Linked DNA regions of Homo sapiens: region 1 is linked to region 2. The links are contacts of gene promoters, found by promoter capture Hi-C in blood cells and fetal thymus (Javierre and others, 2016). All regions are on one chromosome and are shown on one strand. The core of a region is centred on a gene start or on the middle of the fragment in contact, and the rest is flanking DNA. Distances in the headings are between cores, read along the strand shown. Region 1 has its middle 15 kb from the start of NR4A2. Region 2 holds the start of TBR1 (T-box brain transcription factor 1).

What was found. Contacts are between HindIII fragments. The CHiCAGO score rates a contact against its expected background, and 5 or more counts as called.
Region 1: a fragment that was not itself captured here is called in contact with the fragment with the promoter of TBR1 in region 2 in 2 of 17 cell types (total B cells and naive B cells); the score reaches 7.9 in total B cells.

What each region holds. Positions count from the first base shown.
Region 1 is chr2:156,314,160-156,321,699 of GRCh38, forward strand. No RefSeq gene overlaps it. Among named protein-coding and RNA genes, the nearest start is that of NR4A2, 15 kb to the right of the region's middle. The HindIII fragment of the contact is 301 bases long and covers 2,301-2,601 here.
Region 2 is chr2:161,412,730-161,419,431 of GRCh38, forward strand. It overlaps TBR1 (T-box brain transcription factor 1), which reads left to right and starts at 3,568. Exons shown (of 6, transcript NM_006593.4): 1 at 3,568-4,373; 2 at 4,947-5,101; 3 at 5,472-5,593; 4 at 6,163-6,321. The coding sequence starts at 3,682. RefSeq lists enhancers at 1,783-1,932, 3,694-4,316 and silencers at 1,983-2,152, 2,223-2,272. The HindIII fragment of the contact is 4,993 bases long and covers 1,524-6,516 here.

The DNA of each region.
Region 1 (7,540 bases), core at 1,201-3,700, 5.1 Mb before region 2:
AATAAGCATTCATTGTAAAATCATATACATTTAATAATATGCCTAGTTTCCATATTTATGGTCCTGTTTCACTAAGTTATCATCAAAATTTATGAATATGTCCACGTAATGCAAGTATTTGTATTCAAGTAACAGAAAGGAGGAAAAGTGCTTATTTATAGCTTCTTGTTTATAGTACCTGCCTTTCTCTCATACATTGCTACTTGCAATCTAATGAATGATGCATTTCTCACCCACACCAAACTTTCCTATAATCATCAAATTCTATAACTATTTTACATGATGCTACATTGGAATGCTTATTTTGAATACATGTTAAGGGAAATTAACTCAAGGAAAGACAAGCACTTGATTTTCTTTTTCTTGCTTTTCAGTTAAGTACAGACAAGGAATGTAATGAATGAATCAACAGTACATATTTTGATGAAAGCAATGTTGAGCATACAAAACACTGCACATTCAAGAAAAGCCTTGCATTTTTCCTAACTCATAACATTGAAAATGAGATTCACAATCTTGTTAGTGTCAGACTATAATCATTCACATTGCTCTACAAATCAAAATAATATTTTTAAAAGAGCAGCACTGCACTTTCAATGTTAAAGTTTTATGTTGTTTTGTGTTTTATGAATGAAATTTTACTCAAGAAGATCCTCAAAGGGATGTGAGAGACATTGAGGCTTTGTTAGTCAAGAACAGAACATGAGAAGGTACTCTTAGATAGTGCATGCAAGTTGGTCTCTTGATACCATTTGAATTGTAAGAAGCAATTAAATACTTCTGCTTACTGAAAGTAAACTTATGCTATCCTGGTCAAACCCCAGGCCACAACTGCTACATGTGTCATGGAGGTGATGTGTTAGTCTCCAGGGAAAGGGTACAAAGGAAAGTGCACATAAAACTTCCGCTCCAGAGGAAAAGAGCCCTGACACCCTGGACAAAGAAAGTTGCCCCTCTGTCCTCCCACCTGAAGGTACAGTGCTGTCCTGGCATGTGACAACAAGTGGAGATTAAAAACAGGAGAAATATCTGGGACAAAAAAATGTCAAAGCCTCAGAGTCACTTACAGTCTTAAAGAGAATAACATTTAAAGGGAAGCCACATTATTAGTAACATGGGCTTTAAAGAGGGAAAAGGTAATTAGCAACATCTTAATTCTGAATTATGAAACTTTCAGCCAAATCTATCATTAGTCAAGTTAGGATAGAAATTAGAATAGACTGTATAGCATTCGGTTTTATCACAAAGGAAAAAACGTGATAGTAAAAGCTTTTCAATCAAAATTTTTGCCTTTTCTAATACTCAAAAAAAGTAGTATCGTAGTCATAAATTTGAAAAATGCTTCACCAAGGATTAGTTTTACACTCACTTATTGAATTCTACCTAGAGAATTAATATAGAAGATGATACGAAAGGAGATGACCACAGTATCAAACATATATCCTATTCAGTGAACACTATTGACATCTGATTCTACATATACTTAGGTATGTATTTTTTACATTATATTTACCGTCCACCCAGATTTTCAGTTCAATTGACAATTCTTTACTAGGGACCCTTTTGTCCCTTCCAAATATAAATGGAGGACAAATTTAAATGCTGCTCAGACAGATTTTTAAAATCTATATTCACTACCCAAGATTCAGGTGCACAAATTCCTTGGCTCCAGAGAGCATAATCATTCCATAGAATTGCTTTTCCTTATTTACTAACTGAGGACCACTGCAAGTTGGAGATATGTGGCACTTATCGAATATATTTTATCATATATTGCTTCTTTTAAAATCAAAATTATCTTTTTTATGAATTCCTCTTTTATGCTTATAGTGTAAAAATCAATAGTAACCTAATTCATTAAAACATTATTCGCATAAGTAACAAGCAAATCATTCATCCAATAAGCAGACTTGGAAACCCCAAATATAAACACCAAAAGCTGAATTTTAGTAAGAAAATATGCACTATTGGGGAAAAAATGCAAGACAGACAGAGCAGTGCACCATACATAAAATGTCAAACATGTCAAAACACTCATGAATACCAACATCTCCCACCACACCACGACCAATTTTAAAGGTTATTTAGGGCTCACACATCTACAAGTGCAGATTTTACAGCAGCGGACTTTATTTTTCTCAGATATATTAAAAATAAGTCACTGATGTGTCAAATGTTTTCTATGTCATTTCCACACATGTGGCCCATGTAGAGAATTCTGCCCAGCATTTCTGAGAGCAGGACAATTACACAGAACACAGACTCCTGGCACCGAATAGATTCATTATGGATTTGTTAGAAGCTTGTTTTTAACTGTATCAATTCAGTATGCAGGGAGGATAATTAGTCAAAAGACCAAGAAAGCAAATGTAGCTATCTTCATTCCTCAAAAATAGAAACCCCTGTTAGGGTCTCCATAATTCAACTTTTCAGAACTTCATTTCAGAAAGACACTTTGAGAACATGTCACAAGGCTTCCTTGTCCCTAAATCACTGATTATGAATTATTTCCGGATAACTGCAGACAAGTAAGTCTTATAAAACAAGAAGCATAACACATGCAGAACATACTTATCCTACTTCCAGCCCTCAGATAAGTGAAGCTTAAATTAAATGTCAAAAGACGAACAAAATCTATTGTATAAGCAAACAGCTGATCTAAATCCACTATGTTTTGTCTGTCAAGTATGTATATTCTAATAAATTTTATAATATAATAAGACTATTTTTGCCACCCTTTGACCACACCAAGTTAGATGCAGACAGTCTTCTGAATAAATATTACTCTCTGCTTGACTGTCTAAGCAAAATCTATTTATACCATTTGTTAGACTGTGAGAGTAGCTCTTAAGAAAATGTTAATAACAGCTAAACACTGTCTACCACAAATATAGAAGAAGTAGAAGAAAGAATAAAAGGTTCATGCATAGCCAGCTTTTCATTTTTACAAAGTGGCCTGCTCAGGACTGTGAACTAACTAATATGCAATTTGGTTTTCCTGATAGGAAACCTAGAAGCTTGCTGAAAACTCACATGATTAATATAAGGGAATTCAAACAGCTTGAGGATGAAAAACAGTTTTCTTTTTTACTACTTTTAATATGACTTTCTCAATGGCATAAACACACGCAGCAATCATTCCCACTCTTTTCTTGGGCAGCAAAGCAAGCAACTCAGAACTCCTTCACCCATAAACTACGAAAAGCAATGAAAATAATCCCTTCTTTAAAATTTCAGCGAGAAGAAGATTATGCTATTATCACTTACCCCACTGTGGTTTCAGGTCAATGCTCCCCTCCAGAAGTCTGAACATGCCTGAAGCAACATCCTCAACTCTCAGCAGGTGAGAAAATCTTTAGTTAGTTTCTGGAGAAGCAGAAAGGTACAATCCTTCTGGGACAGGCAGTGCTAAAGCAAGGCACTTGTAAGTTCATATCCTGGCTCTCAGTTCGAATTCCAACTCTTCCATGTACTTATAGGCCAAGATAATAAACGATACCTCTCAACCTCATCTCTTCATTTGTAAAATGGAAATAACAGTGCCAACGTCATATTTGGAGTTGAGATGATTATATGATATGATATCTGGAATTGCAACATGTAGTAGACAGAGTTATTGTAATGGAGGAATGTCAGAAACCATGGAATGTGTCCTCCGTCTGCCACCTGCTTCTGCCCTTCACAATGACCCAAATCTTTGAAGGAGTCCACATCACCCCTGCCTAAAGATTGCAGCACCTCTTAGGAAACAAGCTCTCTGACTAGAATGGAATTATAGGAAATGCAAGTTTCCATGCCAATGATTTTGTTCCTTTTGACTCCTTTATGACACCTTGAAACATCTGTGTGGTCCTCATTAGCCCAGAGCTTCCCATACTTAGAGCCACACTCTCCTAACATAGTCTTGCTATGGCCTCTATATCCAACTTTCACCTTATACCTACCTGCCTGCCCAGCACCCAGCATCCTCCATGTGCCCTTTTTATTCACTTCCATAGATCTCTTCTTACTTTAAACTCATTCACATTATTGTTGGCACCCTGGCCATTTTAGTCCTCTCCTTCTCATCTCTGCCTTCAACTCTAGGACTCTGATTAAATAAATCCTCTAAATTGCCTCCTCCTCTTCCAACTTATCAGTCCCTGCTCACCTGATCATTCACAGTATGGTTCATTATCTTTATCCATCCCTATCTCTACCCATTTCCCCCAAAAGCTTTTGCTTCCTCCTTCTTGTTTGGCAATAGCATATAAATGAGAAGGCCTGTGACATGGACAATGGGACATTCACTACCATCCCTTTTCTCTAGCTTTCCTCTATGCCTTTTTTGCTGTTCACTCTCTTCCCAGGTACCAGGTTGCTGAGGAAGATGAAAAGGGGGTGGCTACATGTGCTTATGTGCTTGTCCCCCTGGCCCTTCCTTATGACACCCACCTGGCTTCAAGCAGATAACAGGCCAGAGGATAAAGAGATACAGAAGTCCATTGGAGTGGTGACCAAAAACGAACAAACCAGAGTGAAGAAAGAGGACTGGCCAGAAAACCACAGTAGTAGGCCAGGCATGGTGGCTCACACCTGTAATCCCAGCACTTTGGGAGGCCAAGGCAGGTGGATCACCTGAGGTCAGGGGTTTGAGACCAGCCTGGCCAACACTGTGAAACCCCATCTCTACTAGAAACACACAAAAAAGAAAAAAAAAAAAGCTGGGTGGGGTGCCCGCACCTGTCAGGGAGACAGAGGCTGCAGTGAGCTGAGAACACACCACTGCACTCCAGCCTGGGCGACAGAGCGAGGACTCCATCTCAATCTCAAAAAAAAAAAAAAAAGAAAAGAAAAGAAAAGAAAGAAAGAAAAAGAAAAGAAAAGAAAACCACAGTGCTGAGATTCCCTTATCAGTATCTCTCAATAAAGGCAGCCCTTTCTCTCACTTCATGTACAATTGGTCCTCAGTAGTGACACTATCAACCTTTTTAACTGAGACCCCCCCATAAATATATTTCATAGTGTCACCCAAGAAAAATTGCAGCAAACAATGCTTAGACGTCTTATATTTTTGCTATCCTGCAAAGCCCTCATAATTTCTATTCTATTATTCTTTCATTTCTTTAGAAGAAAATTCTGATGGCAACCCAATATAATATCTTTGAAAACCACTAATGGGTCAGGACCCTCAGTTTGAAAAACACTGGCCTATTTGCAGCTTATTGATGAGGAGTCCTCTCTCTGTCCTTACCCTTCTCGAAATCCCAATTTAATTTGAGTCTGTCAAAACAATCCTCTTGTCCAAGCTTCCAGAGCCAAGAAATTGTGGTAGACTCAATCCCTCTGGAAGTCCCTCTAGTACCCGATGAAAGACTTCTCACACTCGCAGCAGCCGCCCTCTACTGTACCAGGGACGTCTCTAGCAGAAACTTGGGCATTGTATCTGCTAGAACGGGTGACACATGTCCTGGAAATCCTAGTTTATCTAAACACAGGTTGAGATAGAAATAAGAAAAAATGGGAGTGAGAAAGATTAAGTGTGGGAAGAAGAAATGAGGAGAAAAGCGTTGAAGTTGAGCTCTGCTAGGATCCAGGTGCCGGCTCGGCGCTGTGTCTAGTTAAACTCGGCGCGACAGGGTTCAGCTAAGCCGAGAAGAGGGCAGCGAGCGGCCCGCAGTCAGCATCTTGTAGAGAAGAAGGAGCGCTCCCAGCCGCGGGAAGATAAGCGTACAGGCGGCCCCAAGGCCCCTACAGGCGCAGCCCTGATCTGGCCACTTGACTAGACGCTCGCTCCAGCGCTCGCAGGCCTAGGGCTCATTACATGCGTTGCGAGGAGACCTGAAAGCAGGGCGGGAACGCACAATCTATCTTCAGAGCTTTGGGTCGTGAGCACACGTGTGGAGCATGGTTGTGGCATGGGCGTCTGGGCCCCTCTCCTAGACCTCCACGAGGTGCGGACGCGCCTCTGCCCCGCCCTTTTGTGCGCCCTCACCACTAGAAAAAGAGTTTTCCCCAGTGTCGCGTGGGAGGTCGCCCCAGTCCAGCTCAGCGTTCCAAGAGACCAGAGACTGACCGGAAATCGTTGGGTGCAGGGAGAAGCAGGAGACGCGCTCCGCCTCCTGTGCTCGTGCCCTAGCGCAACAGACGCGACCTAGAGGCGACGGCAGCCTGTTGCAGCCTTCGCCCTGAGGGTGGGGGGCGGGGGGGTGTAGAACAGCTGAGGAAGACGCAGGGAGCAGCTGGGGAGGAAAGGGAGGGACACCGAGGAAACAAAGTTCACCCAAGTGAATGCGTCCTAATTGCTCCAAGGCTCTCTCCGCAAAGTCTACGACTGCAAGCCGCAAAGTCAAACTACGTCTCCAAAACGCAGTGGGCAGAGCAGGAGGGCTTGTGTCTCCATTTTCGCCGCAGGGCGGATCGCGGACACAAGTCCTCTCCAGTAATTCCGAAGCCTCGAAATAAGACTATGCTGGGAGGAGGGGTTGGGGGGTGACTAATAAGAAGGCGTGGGGGTGGGGGTGGGGAGTACGCGGCAAGAACCCTGCTTTCTGGAATTCTCCCGCCACTGTCTGCAGGGCCCAGAGCGCACTTCGCGGCTAGGGAACAAAATTGCCGCTCTCTTCGAGCGCCCCCAGCGTGGGGTGGGGCCCTGCTTTCCCGCGTCAGGACCGCCCCACCAGGCGCCCTCCGACGGAAGCTGGACTTTTCCTAAGGAAAGGCAAAGTCAAAGTCGGAGGAAAGATCTTTCTTGCGGCCCCAGCTGTCGCTCCTAATGGTCTCGGGGAACATACTAAAGGAAAATGACTTTAAATCACAGTCTTGCCATCCTAAATAGTTATGTGCAATATTTTGGTTTCTAGCAAAATTTAAAAGTAAAATGGGGATTTCCATATGTTCATTTTATTATTAAAAACGAATTACTAAAAAGTGATGACCTGTTTGGAATTCATATCTTGCTTTACGAGCAGTCAGCCAGTATCGACTGAACACAATAAATGCAGGGGTGCGAAACGTGATTGCTCGGGTTCGAGTTCTGTCGGATGCACCGATCTAAGCAGAACCTTTCCCGAAGACTTGGAATTGGGTGCGCTTTTTTTTTTAAGTTGTGGCTGAGCCCTATGGGGAAGAAGGGTTAACTGGGCGTCGGCTGAGACCCCAAACCCTCTTCCTCCTCCATGAGACTCCAAAATTGAGTCAGTCCCAGCCCATAGTTGCCTGGGAAGCTTGGAATCCTGAGAAATTCCGGGGTGCGGCCACTATGCAAGCATTCCTATTCTGACAGCGGGGACAAATGGAGAGGGGACCTTACAACCTCCTTTGGAGAAGAATATATGAGAAACTCACTTCCAGACCTCTATTCAATAGTGAAAATAATACTGAGAAAAAGTTTTAAAATCTCCAAGAATAGATACTCTCCTTTCCCCTTCCACCTTGAGGGAAACGGTCTCCATTTTTGACCTGGATTTGAGAGCATCGGGGCTTGAGACAAGCGCGTCTTCCACAGAGAGAGGCGAGGCCCAGGCAGGGAGCCCCCCAGCCTTTACTCTCGGCACCTCGG
Region 2 (6,702 bases), core at 2,318-4,817:
TATGTATTAATTTAAGTTGTTGGGATTACATTTAACCATTTAAAATTCAAATATAAGTGGAAGTTAGTGAAATTTTCTTTTGCCTAATTCAAACTTGTGTGCAGGCTTTTTGGATATGATTTTTCCCTTTGCAAATAAGATTCTATAACTTATTTCACAGATGTTGTTAATGAGTGCTAGTCAATGATTTTTTGGGGGGTACAGTGCCCTCAGAAGAAGGCCTTAACATTTCAAGAACTATTCTCAATATTTGGGTTGAAAGGGTTTTTTTGTTTTTGTTTTTGTTTTCTACTTAGTCCTCTGAAAATATCCTGAGTCCTGTGACTGGAAAGGCTTACCTTGCCTGTTTTTTTGCCCTTATTTGATCACCCCATCTTCCTGGACTCCCTATAGCCACACACCACTTACTCTCACTTAGTTCATGTTGGTGACATTCCCAGTTTCAGAACCTTGTCAAAATCTTTGCTAGCAAAAACCTACATTACTTTTTGTAGATTTGGAGTCGATCAAAATCAAGATGCCCTAAGAGGCAAGGCTCAGTGAACACCTTTGTCTTGGAATGTACAGCTATTTTCGCAGCAGCCTGATGTCCCAGGCCCAGTTAGGCACTGAAAAGATGCATTTAATCACAAACTTAGTAAGCTGTTTAAGACTGTATATGTATGCGCGCACATGTGCACGCAATTACCCCTCCATCATGCAGAGGTAAAGCAGCTCTGGAAACAAAACTGTTTGTCTCTAGTGCAGAAATGTCCCTGCTTTTCTCTCAGACTAATACGGGGGCACTGAAAGCTCCGGCCTCACTATTCAAAGTGTCATCTGCCTGGACCAATAGCATCTGGGTCTTATGGAAATTCGTTATATATACAGAAAGCAAGCCCCACCCCAGGCCTATTGAATCATAATAAAGAATCCTGGTGTGGTTCATATACACTTTAAGGTTTGAGAAGCCCTGGCCTTCTTTTAGAAGTACGGTTCACAGGCACATGTGGTGATTCTGAGGAAAGCCTTCATTTTCCTTAGTATATATAAATTCAAGGCATACCCTATATGTGAGCAATCACTGAATTTGGTACTGATAATCCAAAGTGGGTCAGAGAGCACATCAATTCAATTCCTTAAAAACTCTGAAGGAGGTGCACTCTTTCCCTTTTCTATCCTTTAACACCTTAACATTTCAATTTAGCATAAAAAAAAAACAGTTTAGGGTGTCGAGAATGGCAAAGCCTCAAAAAGAGCCCAGGTGATGTCTCACCTCTACACATTTAAGGCTCTGTCCCACTGAGAACGGAGGAAAGTACTGTCTTCCGAAGCACCGGAGGGAGAGGCACTCAGGGACAGAGAAGTTGAAGATGGAGAAAGAAGGAAACAAAAGTAGCCAAAAGTAGTCAAGAGGTCAAAAGCCTCTCATGAGGGCAAATGGCAGTAGAAGGTCAAGGGCAGAAAAACAAGTGTCAAATGGCATCCCCTACTCCCCTCCCCCGCACCCCAACGATTCAACAGCTAAGACTGCTTGTTTATGAAGCTTCCTGGCCAGGAGCTGAGGTTTGCTTTCGAAAGGAAAAATGGGTCTGGCTCTCTTTTTATCCCAGAAAATTGTCTCGGCTTTAGTCTGGGACATCTGGTCAACAACCTGCCCTGCCCAGGCCGCCAGCGCAGGGCCTTGCCCGCGGCGCGTTGATGGAGGCCGCAGCTGGTGCCCTCTGCAGCCAAGGCGCTCAGCCCGCCTGGAGGGGCGCAGTCTCGGCTCAGCGCTGACCGCTCGGCCCACCGAGGCGCAGCTCTGAAAATGCACCACAGTGGCGAAGCGGCGAGTCTGGATAACCCGTCTCCGCCCATGCTCAGGACCCACCCAATGTCCCCAGGCGCTGCTCTCACTCCGGGAGCTGCCCCGGCCCGGGTAGGACAGACGCGCTCGCTCGAAGCCAGAGGCTCCCCCGGCTGAGGTGCCCAGGCCGCTCCTCCAGCCCGGGAAGAGCGTGTGCCCCTGGGGTCTGCGCCAGACGCAGCTCACCCCTTGCTCCTTCAGTCTCCCGGGCGGAGCCCGCCCTCGGGCCGGCCAGCTCTCGGGGCCGAGCGGAGCTCTGGGCGGCGCTCCTCCTGCTCATTCCCGCGCGGCTCGGCGTCCGGGAGGAAAGCCGCGGGAGGGCAGGTCAGCGAGCGCCGGGCCGCGGGAGGCAGCTTTGGGCAGATAAAAAGCCTCTGCCGCTCTTGGCCCTCTGGCTCAGGCCGAGGGCTGGGCTCCTCTGTAGAGCCGGTGCTGGGAGACTTCCTCCCTACACCTCGGGGTCTCTTCGGGCCTCGTGCTATTTATTTGTGCCAACATCTTTTTAAATTGGTTTTTTTCTATTCCTCTTTAGATTCTTTTTCCTTTTAAAAATTATTGGCATGGATGCTTTTTCTCCCCTCCAGATTATATAAACATTAAACACACACACGTACACACACACACACGTTTTCAGTAGCGATTACTGTGTTGACACCACTTCCACTCTGTCTCCCCAGATCAGCGCTTCTGACGAGCCCATTTGCACGGGGACTCGGCCCTCTCTTTTCCTGGCGAGGCTTTTGAACCTGTCGCCAAGCCAGTACCTCAGAGAGAAGGAAATGCAGAGGGACGAGAAGGATGCATGGCGCCTGCCCCCAGTTAGATGTTCTTCAGATAATCTGCAACCAAGTGCGCTGATAAAATATTTAATAAAGAGCCGGTAAACATCACTGCAAATACATTAAGGCATTTCAGCCCGACAGCTTATGATTATTTCAAAACTTAAAAAGGAGATCATAGATTGTCACTGTTTCTGTACTCAACCAAGAAACCGAACCTTCCTGAGGTGGGTGGATTGGTGGGTGAGTTGCTGCTTTTCGCCCCCTCTCCTCCCCCCTTCTGCTTGTCGCTGTGGCTCTCAGCAGCAGGGATTTATTTATTTATGTTTGCAGTTTAAAAGGTGGGGGTGGGGGCGCCGAGGACATGTAGGATCTGCTCACAAAGCACCAGCTCAGGTGTTGTGTGCTTTTGTATTAGCTGGAAAAGACAGACTCTGGAACTTTTACAGGGCGAGAAGAGGCCACCGGCTCGCGCTTTGTATACTTTGCACTTGAAATCGTTACATTCAACTGAATATTTGGCTCATTCAGATCCGAAAAGTCTCCTAGCATCGTCGAATTCCCTCCTCCGCCCCTCCGCTCTAAAGGGGGGAAGGGGGGGAAGGTAGGAAATGTTTAGTAAATTCCACATCTTTGAATCTTCCTAAAGCAGTGGTCACAGAGCTTAAAGGTGACACAACAGTGCTCACGTAAACCAACACACATTCCCCACCCCCCAAGCCAACAATAAAATCATCCCCTTCAATTTGCCATGATCGTCGCTACCAGGAGCCAGGTGATTATCCTAATTAATGTCTATCTAATTAAATTACTGTCAGCAGCTAACCAATGGCAGGAGCCGTTTCATCGGCTGCACAAGCAGCAAGATCAAAAGTGAGCCTTTTCTGATTGCTGCATAGTGTCAATTGGCCAATCTCTTCTCCCAGGGAAAAAAAAAAGTAAATCAAACCTTTGAGAAGCATTTGCTGGTTGAAGTGCTTTCTGTCTAGTGAGGGGGTCTGTGGATTTCTAGTTTATGATAAATAGGACTTTAAAAACCAGGGACGGGAGGGCGAGTGTTCAGGTTCTAGAGCTATGCAGCTGGAGCACTGCCTTTCTCCTTCTATCATGCTCTCCAAGAAATTTCTCAATGTGAGCAGCAGCTACCCACATTCAGGCGGATCCGAGCTTGTCTTGCACGATCATCCCATTATCTCGACCACTGACAACCTGGAGAGAAGTTCACCTTTGAAAAAAATTACCAGGGGGATGACGAATCAGTCAGATACAGACAATTTTCCTGACTCCAAGGACTCACCAGGGGACGTCCAGAGAAGTAAACTCTCTCCTGTCTTGGACGGGGTCTCTGAGCTTCGTCACAGTTTCGATGGCTCTGCTGCAGATCGCTACCTCCTCTCTCAGTCCAGCCAGCCACAGTCTGCGGCCACTGCTCCCAGTGCCATGTTCCCGTACCCCGGCCAGCACGGACCGGCGCACCCCGCCTTCTCCATCGGCAGCCCTAGCCGCTACATGGCCCACCACCCGGTCATCACCAACGGAGCCTACAACAGCCTCCTGTCCAACTCCTCGCCGCAGGGATACCCCACGGCCGGCTACCCCTACCCACAGCAGTACGGCCACTCCTACCAAGGAGCTCCGTTCTACCAGTTCTCCTCCACCCAGCCGGGGCTGGTGCCCGGCAAAGCACAGGTGTACCTGTGCAACAGGCCCCTTTGGCTGAAATTTCACCGGCACCAAACGGAGATGATCATCACCAAACAGGGAAGGTAATACTACATTTTTGGCTGCCGCTGCTCTAGGCGCAGCCGGGGACAAGTGCACCTAGGCTGTGACTGCCGCGGCAGCGACGATTTGGGGTCGGGAGCGGAGTGGAAGGCGCCCTAGAGTTGGCTAGTTTTGGAAAGGGGGAAAGTGGAAGGGATAACCGCCAGGGTGATGTTGGTGGGGGGGACCCCGTTCTAGGAACATAGTGGGAGAGCCAGTCAGTGGCCAGAGGAAGGCAAGAAAAAGGAAGAGCCCTGGCCAGCGGCTGGGCGATGGGAGGGACGCATCAACACTGGCATGCACGGACAGGTGGAGACGCAGGTCGCCAACCTCGCTCTCCACCTGGGCAGTGATAACTGCCACCTTCCCACTCCAGCTCACCCGCCGCTCTCCCTGATTTGGGTTGCACTTCTTTTCTTCTCCCACCACCCTTTTTCTAATCCAGCAAATATTCGCCTATTTGCTGCAAGTACAAGTTTTGCTTTGCTAACTGGCGCCCCGCTTCTTGCATTTAATCTTTAACATTTATGTTTCTTTTTTCCTTGTTTTCTCCCCCCACCCCTTAATTTAAATAGGCGCATGTTTCCTTTTTTAAGTTTTAACATTTCTGGTCTCGATCCCACGGCTCATTACAATATTTTTGTGGATGTGATTTTGGCGGATCCCAATCACTGGAGGTTTCAAGGAGGCAAATGGGTTCCTTGCGGCAAAGCGGACACCAATGTGCAAGGCAAGTCCTTCCAATTAACACATTTTCTTGACACTTATTTAGGTGAGAATGATTAATTAAAGCCTTTGTGGACTGGCTCGAGCGACTTTTAAAACGATCGGCCAATGACTTCTAAAAGGAAACGAGGGGGACAGGGGGACAGACTGAGCTGCGAGAAGGGGGAGGATTATGCAAAAGCTATTTTAATCACCCCCAGTTAATAGGAAGAAAGAATGGCCTAAAAAAGCCCCAGTTAATGGGCTTCATGGTGGAGTAAGGTGTGTGTATGTGTGTGTGTGTGTGTGTGTGTGTGTGTGTGTGTCCTACGTGGTGAGGAGCTGGGACTGGGCAGTGCCAGGGGCATATGTAAACAATGTATTTCTTTCTCTAGGAAATCGGGTCTATATGCATCCGGATTCCCCCAACACTGGGGCTCACTGGATGCGCCAAGAAATCTCTTTTGGAAAATTAAAACTTACGAACAACAAAGGAGCTTCAAATAACAATGGGCAGGTCAGTGGCTCAAGCGCTCGTGTTTTCTCTCTCTCTCACCCCTTCCTCCCTGACATCCAGTTCGTCAGTGTAAAGCAGCATATGGAACTGGATACACGTTTCTTTGCTTCATTAAAAAGACTTAAAAATTGTATTTCCACCCTCCAAATTTATATTAAATCTGTAAAGTTGTTCTCATTGGCAACACCTCCGTCGGCCCAATTTTGGAGTGCCCGACCTTCCCAAGTACTAATACTGATTGATTTTGAGAAGAAACCCCACAAGATCTGCAGGTTGTGGAAATCTTTGTTCCTCCTTACAGGAGGACTAGGAGAAGGGCCCTGAGGATCGGGCGGTCGGCTTCCCCCTTTTTTCCGGTGCCCCGGCTTATCTTCGCTCCCAGAGGTGCGAAAGCCGGTCTGCCCCAGCCAGCCAGCCGCCAGCCAGGCGAGTCCCGCGGTCAGTTAGCCTGGAAGGCGGGCTGCAGGCTGCCTCCGCCGGCCCGGGCGCGCAGCCGGGCGCACACAGCCACGCGCACAGCGACCGCGTTAACACGCCACCCGGCGCTCCCCTTTCTTCCCGCCGGACAGATGGTGGTTTTACAGTCCTTGCACAAGTACCAGCCCCGCCTGCATGTGGTGGAAGTGAACGAGGACGGCACGGAGGACACTAGCCAGCCCGGCCGCGTGCAGACGTTCACTTTCCCTGAGACTCAGTTCATCGCCGTCACCGCCTACCAGAACACGGATGTAAGGAGACCTAGGGGCTGGGGGCGAGGCGGGCGGCACAGACATCTCTCCCACCCTCTCACATTCTCCCGCCATGCAAGGCTAGGGTACTAGCAGCGCTAACATCAGCAACAGCTGGCTCCGCTGTGCGTTTTAAGGCTTAGGGCTCGGGGCCTGCCCACGGCACCTTTCCTAAATACCAAGCCGGTGGGAAAAAGCTTTCTATTTGTTTTCGTCGCTGGTCACCCGGGCCACCTTTGAGGTGGCCAGGATTTCTAAAGACTCTTCTTTTGGGAGTTTTAATTTGGGCTTTGAACTAGAACAGATTAAAATCTACTTTAAAAAAAAATTCTCTCTTTCCTTTAGAAAACAAGCAGATTTCCCCGTGCATTTTATTCTTGG